Linked DNA regions of Homo sapiens: region 1 is linked to region 2. The links are contacts of gene promoters, found by promoter capture Hi-C in blood cells and fetal thymus (Javierre and others, 2016). All regions are on one chromosome and are shown on one strand. Each heading gives the region's core, a stretch centred on a gene start or on the middle of the fragment in contact. The rest is flanking DNA. Distances are from core to core; before and after follow the strand shown. Region 1 overlaps LOC107985743 (a long non-coding RNA gene). Region 2 holds the start of GBP4 (guanylate binding protein 4).

Evidence for each region. Contacts are between HindIII fragments. The CHiCAGO score rates a contact against its expected background, and 5 or more counts as called.
Region 1: a fragment that was not itself captured here is called in contact with the fragment with the promoter of GBP4 in region 2 in 2 of 17 cell types (non-activated CD4 T cells and naive CD4 T cells); the score reaches 7.8 in non-activated CD4 T cells.

Annotation. Positions count from the first base shown.
Region 1 is chr1:89,758,035-89,765,751 of GRCh38, reverse strand. LOC107985743 (a long non-coding RNA gene) reads right to left here. Exons shown (of 3, transcript XR_002958333.2): 3 at 6,814-6,895. Among named protein-coding and RNA genes, the nearest start is that of LRRC8D, 59 kb to the left of the region's middle. RefSeq lists an enhancer at 2,518-3,018. The HindIII fragment of the contact is 1,120 bases long and covers 5,908-7,027 here.
Region 2 is chr1:89,197,450-89,205,204 of GRCh38, reverse strand. It overlaps GBP4 (guanylate binding protein 4), which reads left to right and starts at 6,263. Exons shown (of 11, transcript NM_052941.5): 1 at 6,263-6,410. The coding sequence starts at 6,371. LOC107985076 (a long non-coding RNA gene) reads right to left here and starts at 6,858. Exons shown (of 3, transcript XR_002958332.2): 1 at 6,797-6,858; 2 at 6,147-6,702. RefSeq lists a silencer at 6,165-6,459. The HindIII fragment of the contact is 3,654 bases long and covers 2,776-6,429 here.

The sequences.
Region 1 (7,717 bases), core at 5,218-7,717, 560 kb before region 2:
CTATCTTTTTACTTAGCAATTATCAAACTAACATGAATTAAGAACACACATGAATACAAACAATAATTTCGTTAGCAAATATTCTGTGCTAGGAACTTGGTACTAGATGTTAGATATATATTATCTGCAATTTTCACAGCAGTCCTGCAAGATGAATATTCTCCCTGTTTTCAGAAAGATTAGGTTATATCCCAATTAGAGAAATAAGTAGCTCTATTCTGACTTCTATCATTGAAGTCTTGCCTTTCTTGAACTTCAAATCAATTAAATCATATAGGAGGTACTTTTTGGTTTCCAACTTCTCTTGCTCAATATTAGATTCTGGACTCATTCATGTTGTTAATGAATACCATGAATAACTTATTTTTTAGTGCTGTGTACTTATTGTTTGAAAAAAATCAAAATTTATTCATTTTACTGTAGATTGACATTTGGGTTGTTCCTAGTTTAGTGAAATGATTAAAGTAATTAAGATTATTATATGTGATATGATTAGATCATAAATTATATGATTATATAGCTATATGAGTAGGTGACTAATATATAAGTATATATCTTATTATATATTATATAACATATTATATTTACAGAACCGACCAAAATAAATCTGACAAAAAGTACTCCTTTTTGTTGGATTTGCAATTTGTTGGATTTATATACAAGAGTAAAATAAAGTATTTTTAGCTTTAGTAGATACTCTCTAAAAGATTTCCAAAGTAGTTGTACCAAGTTACACTCCCATCAGCAAATTATGAGAGATTTATTTGCCAATGGTTGGCTTTGTTATATATATTATTTTAGAAGGTAGTAAGGAATATGGTATGTGCTATGGAAAAGGAGAAGTTGGGCAAGATAAAGGGGATTGGAAGTACTGGGGGAAAGTAGAGCAGTTTGAAATTTTAAATATGTGGTCAGGATTGGCTTTTATTTATTTGTTTTTTTGACAGGGTCTTGCTCTGTTGCCCAGGCTGGAGTGCAGTGGCATGATCATGGCTCACACTGCAGCCTCAACCTCCCAGGCTCAAGCAGTCCTCCTGCCTCCCAAGTAGCTAGGACTATAGGTGTGTGCCACCGTCCTCTACGAAAAATATATTTTGTATTTTTTGTAGAGATGGGGTTTTGCCGTGTTGCCCAGGCTGGTCTGGAACTCCTGGGCCCAAGCTGTCTGCTGCCTTCACCTCTCAAAGTGCTGAGATTACAGGTATGAGCCGCCATGCCTGGCTGGCTTTTTTTTTTTTTTTTTTTTTTTGAAGGTGACAACTGAACAAAGTCATGAAAAAGTAAGCGAAAGAGCTATGCAGGTATGTGAGGAAAATATTCTAGGTAGAGGGAAAAGCCAACACAAAGGCTATTAATAAATTGCTGGTGCTTTCCAGCAAAAGCAATTGGTCATTGTGGAAGAAACAGAGTGAACAAGGGAGAAAGGTATGGGAAATAACATGAAGGGGGAAAAGAGCCAGATCATGTAGGGCCTCCAGGACATGGTGAGTGCTTTGGCTTTTACACCGAGTGAAATAGGGAGCTACAATAGGGGTTTGAGCAGATGAGTGACATAATCTGATTTACACTTAAAAAAATTCTGGTGGCTAGATTAAAAATAACTGTGGGCAGGAGCAGGGAGATGAATTAGTCTATTGCAGGAGGTGACAGTAGCTTTAACCAAAGTGGTGATAGTGGACGCTCCAGGCAAATAGGGTGTCAAAAGCCGAGGTGCAGAGATGGAAAGTTCAGTTCAAGGCCGGTATCAGAACTGTGAGCAAACCAGTTGTCTTTCTAACGGGGGAAGGAAAATGACAGCTGCCATTTATTGAACATTCACTATGTGGCAAGCATTGTGCTAAATTTGATACTCCGGCGACCTCTTTTAGTCTCCATGACAACCCTGTAAAGACATTTAGAATTTAGAACCTTTCATACAGTTCCATGACTAAAACGTAGCACACCTGGCATTCCAACCCTTCATTTCATTCTACTCTAGCACTAAAGCTAGAAGGGAAGCTTGAGGCCACATTGTGGAGTGCCAAGAGGTTTGAACTTTTGCCTGGTTTGAACTTTTACCTTCTTAATCTTTTCCCCGCATCCCCACATTTGAGGACAGGACACCTCCAGGAACTGCAGCTCAGCAACAGGGGTTCAGCGTGAGCGCGGCCTGGGGAGGGTCATCGCCTTTTTGGGGAGTGTGGGGAGAAACGCGGCTCGCCTTGTCGTGGCTGGCGATACGCCTCTGCAGGAAGGGTGTGTCTCCCCGCTTGAGGATTCTCCCTATAGATAAAGAGGAGACTCAGCAGAGCCTTAATTAGAGATCACAGAGGACTGACAACGAGCGTCCGGAAGACGAATTGGCAGCGAGGTGCATGGATTCGATACAGAAGCTGGAGATAGAGTCCAGCTAACAGACCACTGCAGTTCGACGGAGCCAGAGTGAGGCAACGAGGAGAGATGTCGGGGAAGGAAAGGGGATGGGACTTGGGGACTGGAGCGGCTCGAGAGCGACGGAGAAGGGGGCGTTAGGCTCTAAGGATTCTCTTACTGTGCCTCCTCCCCGTGTCCTCGGGTGGCGGCTGCGCAGCCCTCCAGCCCTCAGAGCTGCCCTGCAGCACCTTGGCCACTAGGAGGCAGGCCCGCCTTATCTGGAGCCCCGGCCGCCGCTCACTCCAGGGAGGGCTGCGCTGCTGCTTAAATTCCAAGTCAGGCCAGCCCCTGGAACGCTTAATGGGAGCTTAGATTTAGAACAGTTGATTTTCATTGAGACGGAAATTTGGACAGTCTCCCACTTGATTGAAAACGGCTAGAAACAAGGCTTACGGTAGAGCAATGAATGCCAGAGTGCAGGCGCCGGTGCCCAGGCGGCCCGGGGAACAGGAGGGCCGGAGGAGGAAACAGCTGCCTGCAAAACACCAGCAGCGCCCTTAATTAACACCAGTGCTGGCCAGGGGGATTGTGCTTCCGGAAATTCCCAACGTCCTTTCCCTGCTTGCCCAGGGCCATTCCATTATACAGTTTCAGACCAGTCCCAGGTCTGAAATGGAAAGAGATGTTACCCTAGATGCCCGGAGACAGCGGGGCCGCAGAGACCTCGCACAGCCGAATAGCAGTGGAGCAGGTGTGTGTGTGTGCATGTGCATGTGTGCACGCTGTGAGGGTGTGGTGTGTGTAACATGCTCCCATGTGTCCGTGTGCCCGCTCTGCAGGGGGAATGTTAATGTTTGATTGTTGTTTGGCTTCAGCCCAAAAGAGAAACAAATAATGAGGTGAACGGAAATGAGCTGGAGTCTCTGCTTTCACCGCTAATTAGTCCCTGCTCGATTTTGACGAAGAAGACATACAATAGACACAAGTGAGCAACGAATGAGAAACTCAGGGACCTAGGCTGGGGAAAGGGCGTCGGGTGGGGGGTGTGTGGGCAGGGCTAGGAAGGGAATCTCAGAAGCCAGTGTGCCTGGATCAGGCCGACAGGTCATTCCCACCCTTAGATGAAAATCTGCGCATTATTCCATCTTGGCTGGCATCTCTTATGGGCTGGCCTTCATCTTACTAACGCCATTTCACTTTTTGAAGGGTTGACAGTTACCTTCTTCACCTTCCCCTGGGCAGTTCTTTGTTGTCTTTGTCAGGCTGGCCCCTGTCCATATTTCTCAGAGCCCTGGTCACAGCTCTCTTACTCACCAGCTGCTCAGACAAACCCAGCCTTGACCTGGCTCTGCACTTCAGCACGTTGCCTGCTGCTCCTTAGACTCTTCTCTTGCTACCTGTGAAAGGTCAGATGCAAAATGGTGAAGGCAGAAACAGACTGTTTGATGACAAGGTGAGGAAGAGCTGCTGCTCAATATACCTGTGTGTCTATTGATGTGCAAGTGAGCAGGAAAGATGGTGGTAGAAAGTCATGTTAGAGACCTCTGTGGCAGACCCTTCAATTATCAGCAATGCCAAGGGTCCCTGTCTGTGGGGCCCCCACAGGCACAACTCGTATGGGCTCCAGAGACACCATTTCAGCTTGAGAATGTGTCCCCCAAGTTGCTAAAGTATGTGTCCTACCCTCAGAGTACCTGGTCTCTCCAGGGCTCTCATAGCCCCTTGTGAATATATGCCTAGGAGTGCATGCTCCTTGAGCATGAATATGAGAATTATAAAAAAAATTCTTCACCCAGAGCAGGTTCTCCTCAGACTTGTATTCTCGAATGTGTGTGTGAGAGAGGGAACTTCATTTCTTTCACATCCTAATAAATACAGAGAATGGTCACTTCTTAGAAACTGTTGTTCACAGCACTTCTGGGTTGTTGCTAGTCTTTATTCCCTTTCTTTTTGCTTGCCCCTTTAGGGCACAACTGTCCCAGTACAGGTTTTCTTTCTAATGCTGCTCTTCTTTTTTGTTTGTTTGTTTGAGATGGACTCTCACTCTGTTGCCCAGGCTGGAGTGCAGTGGTGCGATCTCAGCTCACTGCAAGCTCTGCCTCCTGGGTTCAAGCAATTCTCCTGCCTCAGCTTCCCAAGCAGCTGGGATTATAGGCGCGTACCACCACACCCAGCTAATTTTTGTATTATTAGTAGAGATGGGGTTTCACGATGTTGGCCAGGCTGGTCTCGAACTCCTGATCTCAAGTGATCTACCCGCCTCAGCCTCCTAAAGTGCTGGGATTACAGGCATGAGCCACCATGCCCAGCATGCTCTTCCTTTATAATTTGGTAGATTGGGCCATGGTGGGAGTTCTCAAACTTTAATAATAATAAAAAAAGTCTCTCAAGGAGTTTGTTTTAAATGCAGATTTCTCAGGTCCTGCCCAAATCTATGGAATCAGAATTTCTGGAGCAGTCCATGGGAATCGGCATTTTACCAATCCCTCTGCTACCTCCTCCTCTAAGATCCGAAGTCAGATGGTTCACAGAACACATATCATAAAACGTGGTGCTGATGGAGGCCTTGGGCCCTTGTCTGGCTTGCTCAGGCTGCTATAACAAAACACTGTAAACTGGATGACTTATAAACAACAGCAATTTAATTCTCACAGTTCTGGAGGCTGGAAGTCCAAGATTGGATTTGGTTTCTGGTGAGTGCTCACTTCCTGTTTCCTAGAACAGTTCTTTTCCCCTGCGTCCTCACTAAGTGAAAAGGGAAGATAAGCTCCCTTGGGCTCCTTTATAAGGGCACTGTTCTCACTCATGAGCCCTCCATTTCATGACCTAATCACCTCCCAAAGGTCCCACCTCTTAATACCATCACCTTGGGGTTTAGATCTCAACATATGAGTTTTGGAGAGACACAAACATTCAAACAAAAGCAGTCCTTTTCTTAATTTTGAGAGTTATTTATATATTTTAGACTCAAGACCTTTCTTAGAGATGTAATTTCTAAATATTTTCTTCCTGTCTGTAATTTGTCTTTTGATCCTTTGTCCAAGGTCTTTCACAGAAGTTTTTAATTTTGATGAGATCCAATTTATAAATTTTTCTTCTTATGGCTCATGCTTTTGGTGTCAAGTCTAAGAACTTTGCTTAGTCCTACACCCCAAAGATTTTTCTCTTATATAGTTGTATGTTTATGTTTTAGTCAATTATCCATTTTGAGTTAATTTTGGTATTGGTTTAGGTCCAATTGCTCCAGCACCATTTATTGAAAAGGCTGTTTCTCCTCTATTGCATTGCTTTTACTTCTTTGTCTAAAATTAATGGGAATTTTGAGTGGGTCTATATCTGTGTTCTCTATTCTGTTCCACTGATTGATTGCTTTGCCTGTTCCCTCTACCAATACCATACTGTTTGGATACAGCACTTATATATAGGGCCTTAACATTTGGAAGCGTGATTCTTCCCACTTTATTCTTGTTTTTAAAGTTTTTTTTTTTTTTTTTTTTTTTTTGTTTTTTGCAATTCTTGGGTCTTTCCCTTTCCATATAAATTTTAGAGTAAGCTTGTCTATGTCTATGAAAAAAACTTATTTAAATTTTGATAGTAATTACATTAACATGATCTGGTTACGGAGAAGAAACTGTGTGGAAAAGTTGGGCAGTCGTAGTTGCTATATGATTTGTTAATAAACTTTGATCCTTCTAGAATCCTAGAACCAGAGAGGACTCAACACTTTAAACTGGCTCCAGGGAACATTGTAGGTTCTTGGGGGTTCATAAACTGTCTTTAGGAAAACGGAGCTGTCTTAAGAGAAGTAAGTTGTACGTACTTCTCTGAGAACCGAACTTTCTCTCTTATGGCTGTGAGAACCAAATGTTTACTTAAGTAAAATTGATCTTCATTTCTACTTCAACAGGGAAGGAAGAGCTGAAGGACCCTGGGGATGATTGAACATAGCCTCTCACCAGCGCGCTCAGGAATTGTCCTGAGAGCAGCAGGAGGAGTGGTAATCCTGCAAGAGAAGGTGGCTTTGTTGAGAGCCTTTAAATTCAGCTTTATTACTCGCCAGTCTCCTTCCTTGTGTTCTGGCCATATTTCTTATCCATTAGGCAGCCAGCCCTTCACATGAGATCCTCCTGGTTTTGCATTCTTTTCTGCAATGCTGACACTTCCTTCTAGTTACACCCTTTGGCACTCTAATCTGTGGTCTTAGTTTTAGTCACTGATGAAGATATTTGGCACATTAACTCTTATTTCAGTTAACACCAGATGAAGTGAACTCAATTCCTCTTCTCACACAAAAGTTGGCCCCAAACTAGTTCAAAAATATATTTGAATTCTTTCTTGGCTAGTGTCGGTTATTTGTGTCCCTTTAGTGATCTGATTAATATTTGCTTTTGTGATGGTTGTCACATCAAGATAGCTGCAAGCATTGTTAAAGAGACATTTGATAAGAGGGACTACTTACCTGGAATTCACCCCCAGACCACCGAAATCTTAACTACTGATGACAGTTTTGTGTATCCTTTAAGGAGCTCTTGAACTCTGAATTCTATAGAGAAAATAAAAAGATTTGTTGAAAATGACTGACCCCATGTGGGTTGAGAACTATATCCAGTTAACTAAACTGTAAACAGCTAACTGAATCTGTTAACAGTTAAGTATGTTATCTATAAAATAAGCTTCAAGTAGCACTGTGTTGTAACTTCTTGGTGCCTCCAAATTAAGAGTTAAACCCTTAGATCTGGCTAAGGAAATGACTTTATCCTAGCCCAAAGGAGACCTTTTCCTCAACTCTTCCTCCATTATTTTTATTCTCTATTGTTTACTCATCGTCTCATATGTCCCCTGTCATGTTACATTGGAATCATTTCTTTTAGATGCAAACTGCAGCTGATGTGTTCATTGGGTCTATTGCAGCCCCCACCAAGTGTTCACTTCTGGTGAGAGGCATATCCAGGGCCTGAGTGCTGGAACCCAAAGATGACAAGGGTGGAGCATTGATGAGTTAACCTCGCAGCTGGAGGGTCTGTGCTGCATAGTCTCCCCTTGGGCCATGAGAGCACATGCTTGAGAATTACATAAGCCTGTAGCAGGGCAGGGCTCAGGGCTACGGAATTGATAACACCAGTGGGACTAAGGCATCCACCATCTGTTCTTTGTTATGTTCATGCCCATCACCAAAGTAAAAATCACAGTCATCCTTCTCTCCACCATTTCTGTCTCAATCAATCACTTCCTCCTAGGCTGGCCAAATTATCTTCTTCAACTTGCCAGAGGAAGAGGGAATGTCTTTTGGTAAGGCACAGAGGAGCCCTTGGTTTTCCAGTTACACTCCTGCTAATTGCAGAGATTTCTCAGTTCGTGGTAATCA
Region 2 (7,755 bases), core at 5,014-7,513:
GGGCATGCGTAGGCCCAACACCACATGGAAGCTGCCAAGGCGTGTGGCTTGCACCCTCTGAAGCAGTGGCCTGAGCTGTACCTTGGCCCCTCTTAACCATGACCGGAGCTAAAGCAGCTGAGACACAGGGCACCATGTCCCAAGACTGTACAGAGCAGCTGGACCCTGGACCTGGCCCACAAAACCATTCTTCCCTCCTAGGTTTCTGGGCCTGGGATGAAAGGGGCTGCCATAAAATTCCCTGAAATGCCCTGGAGACATTTTCCCCATTGTCTTAGCTATTAACATTCAGCTTCTCTTTACTGATGCAAATTTCTGAAGCAGGCTTAAATTTCTCCTCAGAAAATGGGATTTTATTTTCTACCACATGGCTGGGCTGCAATTCTCCAAACTTTTATGCTCTGTTTCCCTTTTAAATATAAGTTCCAGTTTCAGATTATCTTTCTTCATGCATATGAAAGTACACTTTTAGAAACAGCCAGGTTACATCTTGAATGTCTTGCTGCTTAGAAATTTCTCCTGCCAGATACCCTAAATCATCTCTCTCAAATTCAAAGTTCTAGGGCAAGGGCAAAATGGCACCAGTCCCTTTGCTAAACCATAGCAAGAGTGACATTTACTCTAGTTCCCAATAAGTTCCTCCTCTCCATCTGAGACCACACAGCCTGGACTTCATTGTTTATATCACTATCAGCATTTTGGTCAAAACCATTCAACAAGTCTCTAGGAATATCCAAACTTTCCCACATCTTCCTGTCTTCTTCTGAGCCCTCCAAACTGTTCCAACCTCTGTGTTACCCTGTTCCAAAGTCACTTCTGCATTTTCAGGTATAGCAGTACCCCACTCTTGGTACCAATTTTCTGTATTTCCATTCTCACACTGCTATAAAGAATTACTTGAGACTAGGTAATTTATGAAGAAAAGAGATTTAATTGACTCATAGTTCCACAGGCTTAACAGGAAGCATGAATGGGAGGTCTCAGGAAACTTAAAATCATGGCAGAAGGCAAAGAGGAAGCAAGCACCTTCTTCACACGGTGGCAGGAGAGAGAGAGAGAGGAAAGGGGGAATTGCCACACACTTTTAAGCCATCAGATCTCATGATAACTCAATCACTATCATGAGAATAGCAAGGAGGATATCTGCCCCCATGATCCAATCACCTCCCACCAGGCCCCTCCTCCAATTCGACATTAGATTTGGACAGGGACACAAATCCAAACCATATCACTTATTATATATGTAAAAGAGTTTATTTTAGGAAGTTGATTCTGACGGGTTAGTTTTTTGCAAGTAATACAGTGAGAAAAATAGATCACCGTTCAATTCTTGCTTCAACCACTGACTATGAAATATGTAACCAATCATTTTGCCTATATCTTTACTGCCTTTATTTCATCTAGTAGAAGAGATCAAATACTTTAATTTATGGTTCTTTTAAGGATCAATGCATAATGTACATAAAGCATCTGCACCAGGCATTAATATAGAGAGGAATTCACTAGCTAGAATATTATTTTTAGAAGAATGAGACTTTAGACACCAATTATATCCTATTATCATCAATTTTACCAACAGTAATGGGCATACTGGAGAAAGAGCTCTATGATCTGTCAGTGCAATTCTACATACTTTTCCCTTGGAAGTTGATACAAAGGCTCCACAAGCAGGAAGCTGATATGCTCATGCCTTGACAACCATTAGAAATGACTTTGGAATCTTATCCACTGAGAGACTCTTCTGATTGCAGCTTACCATGGCCCCTGTTTGTCTAGTGGAAAACCAGAGAGAGCAGCTGATGGTTAATCTGACACAGTAAAGATTATTTACAAGATATTTCAGCCTGTGGTGATGGTGACTATTGTAAGGCTACAGTGTGTAGGGAAATCCTACCTGATGAATCATCTTGCAGCATAGAACCATAGTGAGTCTGGTCTTGAGACAGAGACCATTAGTTCGGAATCATAATAATGCACCTGATCACACCAACTCTAAGGTTATTATAAGAAAGAGACCAACTCTTCTCTATAAAATAATTTCCAATTCCTACAACCAAATTTATACCTGGGACTGCCTGTCCTATCTGCTGTCACTGTACTGTTGCTTTGTCTTCTTCCTTAGCAGGCTTCTGTGTGGGTTCTGCTATGAGGTCTGGAACCCAGGGTTCTGGATGTAGGACTCTCTCCAAGCAGAACCACACTGAGGGTCTGGGTTATGCAGGAAGGTTAAGGCAGAGTCATGAAGAAATCTTCTTTACTCTTGATTCTCAACATTTAATTGGCTACCTTGATTCAGCTTATCTGTAATATTTCTGCAAAATGTGAATATGAATCATGAAGAATGAGATTAAGTTCTGTTTCCCTGAACTTTTCTCCTTGGTAAGCTCAAATACTTTGGAATATTAAGATAAGATCTTATTTTAACACTGGGGTGAACAATAGAATTAATAAATATTTATTGAGCAGCTGAATTCCAGGGCTCTGTGCTAAATACTATAAAAGGGCAGTAAACAAGATAAAAGCCTAAAGCCTCATTAGGGAGACCACACATACAGTGTGATCAGAACAGGGTGCCATAGATGCAGAGAAGTAGGGATCTAGTTCAGTTGTATAAACCAAATAAAGTCTCTTGGAGGAAATAACATCTGGACCGTAACTAGTGGAATCACCGGGAGCTATCAGTTAAAGCACACGAGAGTGATCGATTTGGAAACATAAGCCTCGGAAAACAGGGTTTCAGTGAAGTTATGTATTTAAATAATCTCCATAAAAGCTTCAGCTACATCAGGATCATCATAAAGGTTTTGTTCCAACTCCAAGGGCTTTGGAGATTAACTCTTCACTGACTTCTCTGAAAGCATGAACTTAACCTATGTAAAATAGTGTAAATAAGATAATTTTAGGTATTCGATCTTCACAGTATTAAGGGCAATGTGTGATTTCTCCTAATTTTACATTACTCTGAGTCTAAATCAAAACTAACAACAGATCTTTGGCATTATTGCAAATGAAAGAAGGAAAAAGAGGAAAAGAGAAAAGGAAAGAGGGAAAAGAGAGAAAAGAGTGTTTTTCAGAAAAAAAAATCTTATGTATAGCTCTGTCTTCATGGATAAGCAAATTATGCAGTCATGTAGTACCATAGCCTCAGAAAAGTCAATGCTTGATTTGAAATTATTATATTGAATTTCTTGATGATTTTTTTAACGACGAGCCCCACATTTTCATTTGAATGCTTTAGTTCATCTTTCTAATATACTCTCTTTTGTTTAATTTCAAAGAAAATGTGTTGTTCCTGGGTACTACTGAGTAGATTGGCTTTGATCAGTAATTAAATAGTAATGTGAAGCGTTATAGAATCATTTTTAAAAGTGTGAAATGCCCCTTGTGGTTAGAACTCAGAGAAGTCATAAATCCCCATCCCCCAATACTTGATACCATTTTTGTTTCAGTTACATGACACTAAAAAAATCCTGGATTAAATTGTGTCAAAAATTCAATAGCAAGTAGCTGCAAATAGTCATGTAATGTGTTCTTAGCCTATGGACGCTGCTCCTTTGAAGCCAGAGTTCATTCCAAGTTGAATATGGTGAGGCTCTGTGACTGGCCTTGAAGTTAGACCAAGTGGCAAAATCCTCTATGGAGTGTGAAAAGCAGGGCTCTTCAACTGGAACACTGCACAGATGGCATAGGCCTGGAGGCTTGTCTGATTTTATTCATTCTTACTGTGGTCTGAATGTTTGCACCTCCCCATCACCCCAAAGTATATTGACACCTAATCACCAATGTTGACACCTAATCACCAGTGTGATAGTATTAGACAGTGGGTCATTTAGGAAGTGAGAATGAACTTAGGTCATGAGAATGAAACTGGTGAGACTAGTGCCCTTATAAATGAGACTCCAGAGACCTGCCTTGCCCTTCACCATGTGAGTACACATCAAGGGGCCACCAACCATGAACCAGGAAGCATACCCTTATCAGACCCCCAATCTACCCATGCCTCGATCGTGTGTTTCTCAGCCTTCAAGAATGTGAGAAGTAAATTTCTGTTGTGTATAACTTACCCAATTTACTTATTTTTTATAGACGCCCAAACAGACAAAGACACTTCTTCATGCTTATTTTTTGAGCCAATCACCTCTGTTAAACAACAATGGTGTTATTATTACTTCTACATCCTTTATGCCAGTTGATAAGAATTTGGTGTTGACACAGAACAGGGTACCTCTTCTTCAGGAGATCATTCCAGATTGGGCCATTCATATGCTTATCACTACCTCCAGAATGTCAATTTGTAAAAACACAGACACACACACGACAGTGACTATTCTGAACTATATTAAAGTAAGTACACACAGATAACATTATCACTTGCCCTGTATGATCTACTAACGTCATAACTTTCTGTCTCCTTGCCTTGCTCAGTGAGATTAAAAACATCTGCAACTCATTTCCTCCAGTTTCCTTCCAAAATCAGTGAGCCAGTAAAACACCCTCATTTCAAAAAACTGTTTTATTTGATACATCTTGTAAATGAATTACAAGTTAACCACAAAATACAAAAACATATAGACATTGCACTTTAAATATTCAAAAAATGTATAAATAAGAAGCTCAAAATCTGATATGGAAAAATATTCAAAAAATGTTCAGAGTCTTTTTATCAAAATAAAAGTTATTTCCTTTTTATGAGTATGTGTGTGCATATCTGTGATTATAAAAAAAGTCTTTAAAAATTCATATAATTCAGAAAGACATTTTAAAAAAATCACCTGAGCTAGAAGTACTAATTTTAAGGAGGTAGTGGTTGGGGGAACACTTATAGACTTTTATCTGTGTAACACAGACATATTGCTATGTATATTTTCTATGTGCATAGACATATTGCTATGTGCAATCATTATACATACAACTGTGAATTAACAATTTTTTTTGAGACAGTATCTCACTCTGTTGCCCAGGTTGGAGTGCAGTGGGACCACCATGGCTCATTGCAGCCTTGACCTCCTGGGCTCAGGTCATCCTCCCACCTCAGACTCCCAGGTAACTAGGACTATTATAACAGGCACATGCCATTATGCCCAGCTAATTTATTATTATTATTATTTGTAGAGATGGGGTTTCCCCATATTGCCCAGGCTGGTTTCCAATTCCTGGACTCAAGTGATCTGCCCACCTTGGCCTCCCAAAATGGTTGGATTGCAGGAGTGAGCCACCACACCCAGCCTAAATTTCTTCTTGATTAACATTTCCATGATTATCTGAAGTCAGTAACATTGGATTATCTGGAAAGGGGTGCCACTGGTGAAATTCAGGTGTTTCAAACACATTTACCTGGATTCAGTCATCCCTGTACTTTTTCTTCTTCTTCTTTTTTTTTTTTTTTAAGAGAGAGGGACTTCCTGACATTAAAAAATGGTAAGAGAAAAAAGCACCTGATTTCTTATTACTGGTCCTATTTAAAACTTGACTTAGCTTTATTTTCACTTTCAATATTGCTTATAGGAAATAAATGTTAAGTTTTGAATCAAAATCGGCACCAGTAATTTTACCTGATTAAGTGCCTAAAATTTTGTACTTATTAATTTGCAAATGTTTAATCAGACATTACTAAACAAATAGGAAGATCTAAGGGATAGGCACAAATGGGGAATCATTACCCATTTATTTCAGATAGATTTCCCAAACTCTGTTAACAAACTGGCTAGTCATTTTAGGAACTGAGTCCATTTTTCTGGTAGCCTGGGTAAGACTCCTAATTATAAATTATGCTTTTTATGGTCCAATCATCCTCCTGTCCTCCAAAAGATCCAGTTTCAATGAGATGTTTGTGTTTTGAAAGAGAAGTATTTACTTGCCACCACCGCACCTCTGGGCAACAACGTTAGAGGATACATAGATATCCATAGACACACACACAAACACACACATATTTTATGGTTAATGAAAAAATAAAGAAAAGAGATGAGAAACAGAAACATATAAGCATGTAAAAAAAAATAAAAGCAAACAAAAACTCAAATTTCTTCCCTGACAAAATTACCCCTGAGAGACAGGTAGATGAAACAACATTCATGTCTGCTGCTCTATATTCATTTTGGAGGCGAAAGATACCTAAGCTAAGGGTGGAAGAGGGACAAACAAACCTGAGTTTCAGGAGTCTGGTGTGGAGGAACCAGCACTTTCAAGCTCCTTTAGTTTCCTGTCTTGATAAACAGGAAAATCCCCAACAGTCAACTCCCCACAAAGTGCATGTCCTTTCAATTTCGGTTCTCACAGACTCTTACTTGGATGTCTGTAAATCCGGCTGGACTTTCAGCTTCTAAGAACAGTCCGTTTCTCGAGGATCCAGGCGCAGGAGGACAGAGCAATGGGTGAGAGAACTCTTCACGCTGCAGTGCCCACACCAGGTAAGTTTGCTCTTAAGCTTTACCTTTCAAGTATATTTGGGTTATAACAAACAACAACAAATTCCCAAGCGCAGACTGCACACGGGGAGGGTTGGAGACTTCACACTGGCGGGTGACAAAGGCAGTGGAGGAACCTCGCGGGGAAGTCTGATGCTGCTTGAACCCCTGAGTGCTTTGCTCCGTGTGGCCCAGCGTCTCTAGACGGTCCACAGGCGGCGACCAGAGGCGCACCGGTGTCTCCAGGATGCGCTGCTCCTCCTCGGGCTTCCTCCCAGAGCTGTGGCATTTTCTCCTGCGAAATACCATCATCTAGTATACATATACACATTTTTTGCTTGTTTGTTTTATTAATTTTCTGTCCCCCACTAGAATATGTGATACCCTACCTTGTTTTAACCTGAGTTGACTCTCCCTTAGCTGAAAGAGCCAGACAGTCTGCATCTCGGCTCCTTCACTTGCAGCCCCTTACCCACCCGCTTCCTCAGGGACTTAACTTGTGCAAGCTGACTCCCAGCACATCCAAGAATGCAATTAACTGATAAGGTACTGTGGCAAGCCATACCCGCAGTTCCCAGGAATTCGCCCGGTTAACAGCACCCAGAGCCCCCCGCGTTTGTGTCTGGTTGATAAAGCCCAAAGCCCCGCTTCTATCACCTTGTGATAGAATTAAAGCCCCTGCACCTAGTACTGTTTACTTTCCTGTAACCATTTATCCTTTTAACTTTTTGCCTACTTTACTTCTGTAGGATTGTTTTAACTAGACCCCTCCCCCCAACCTCTCCTTTCTAAACCAAAGTATAGAAGAAAATCTAGCCCCTTCTTCGGGCCGAGAGAATTTTGAGCACTAGCCGTCTCTCGGTCGCCGGCTAATAAAGGACTCCTGAATTCGTCTCAGAGTGTGGCGTTTCTCTGTAACTCGCTGGGTTACAACAAATAGAGCTCCAAGAGGCAGAAGTTTGTATCAATTATGTTCCTTGCTTGTTGCTGAGAATCTAGAACGGTGTTAATTAGCACATGGTAGGTACGCAATACTCTTTATTAAATTAATGAGAGAGCAAATTCTTCTGGAATGCCTGGAGCCTTTTCTAACCACTCCTCATCTCCTTTTTGTAACATCCTGCCCCTATTTATTCCAGGAGTGGAATTATTCTGCCATCAGTGCCTTGATTTTCTAATTCTGTTTATTTTATGCATCACCTTGACAAGGCATTTTTAGCGTTCTTGTAAGAATCATAAATAATGTACATAACAGATCTGTACTAGTCTTTGACATGCTAAACTAAATATTTTTCCATTTGAAATGTACAAATTTTATATACATAGAAATTTTATATACCATTAAACG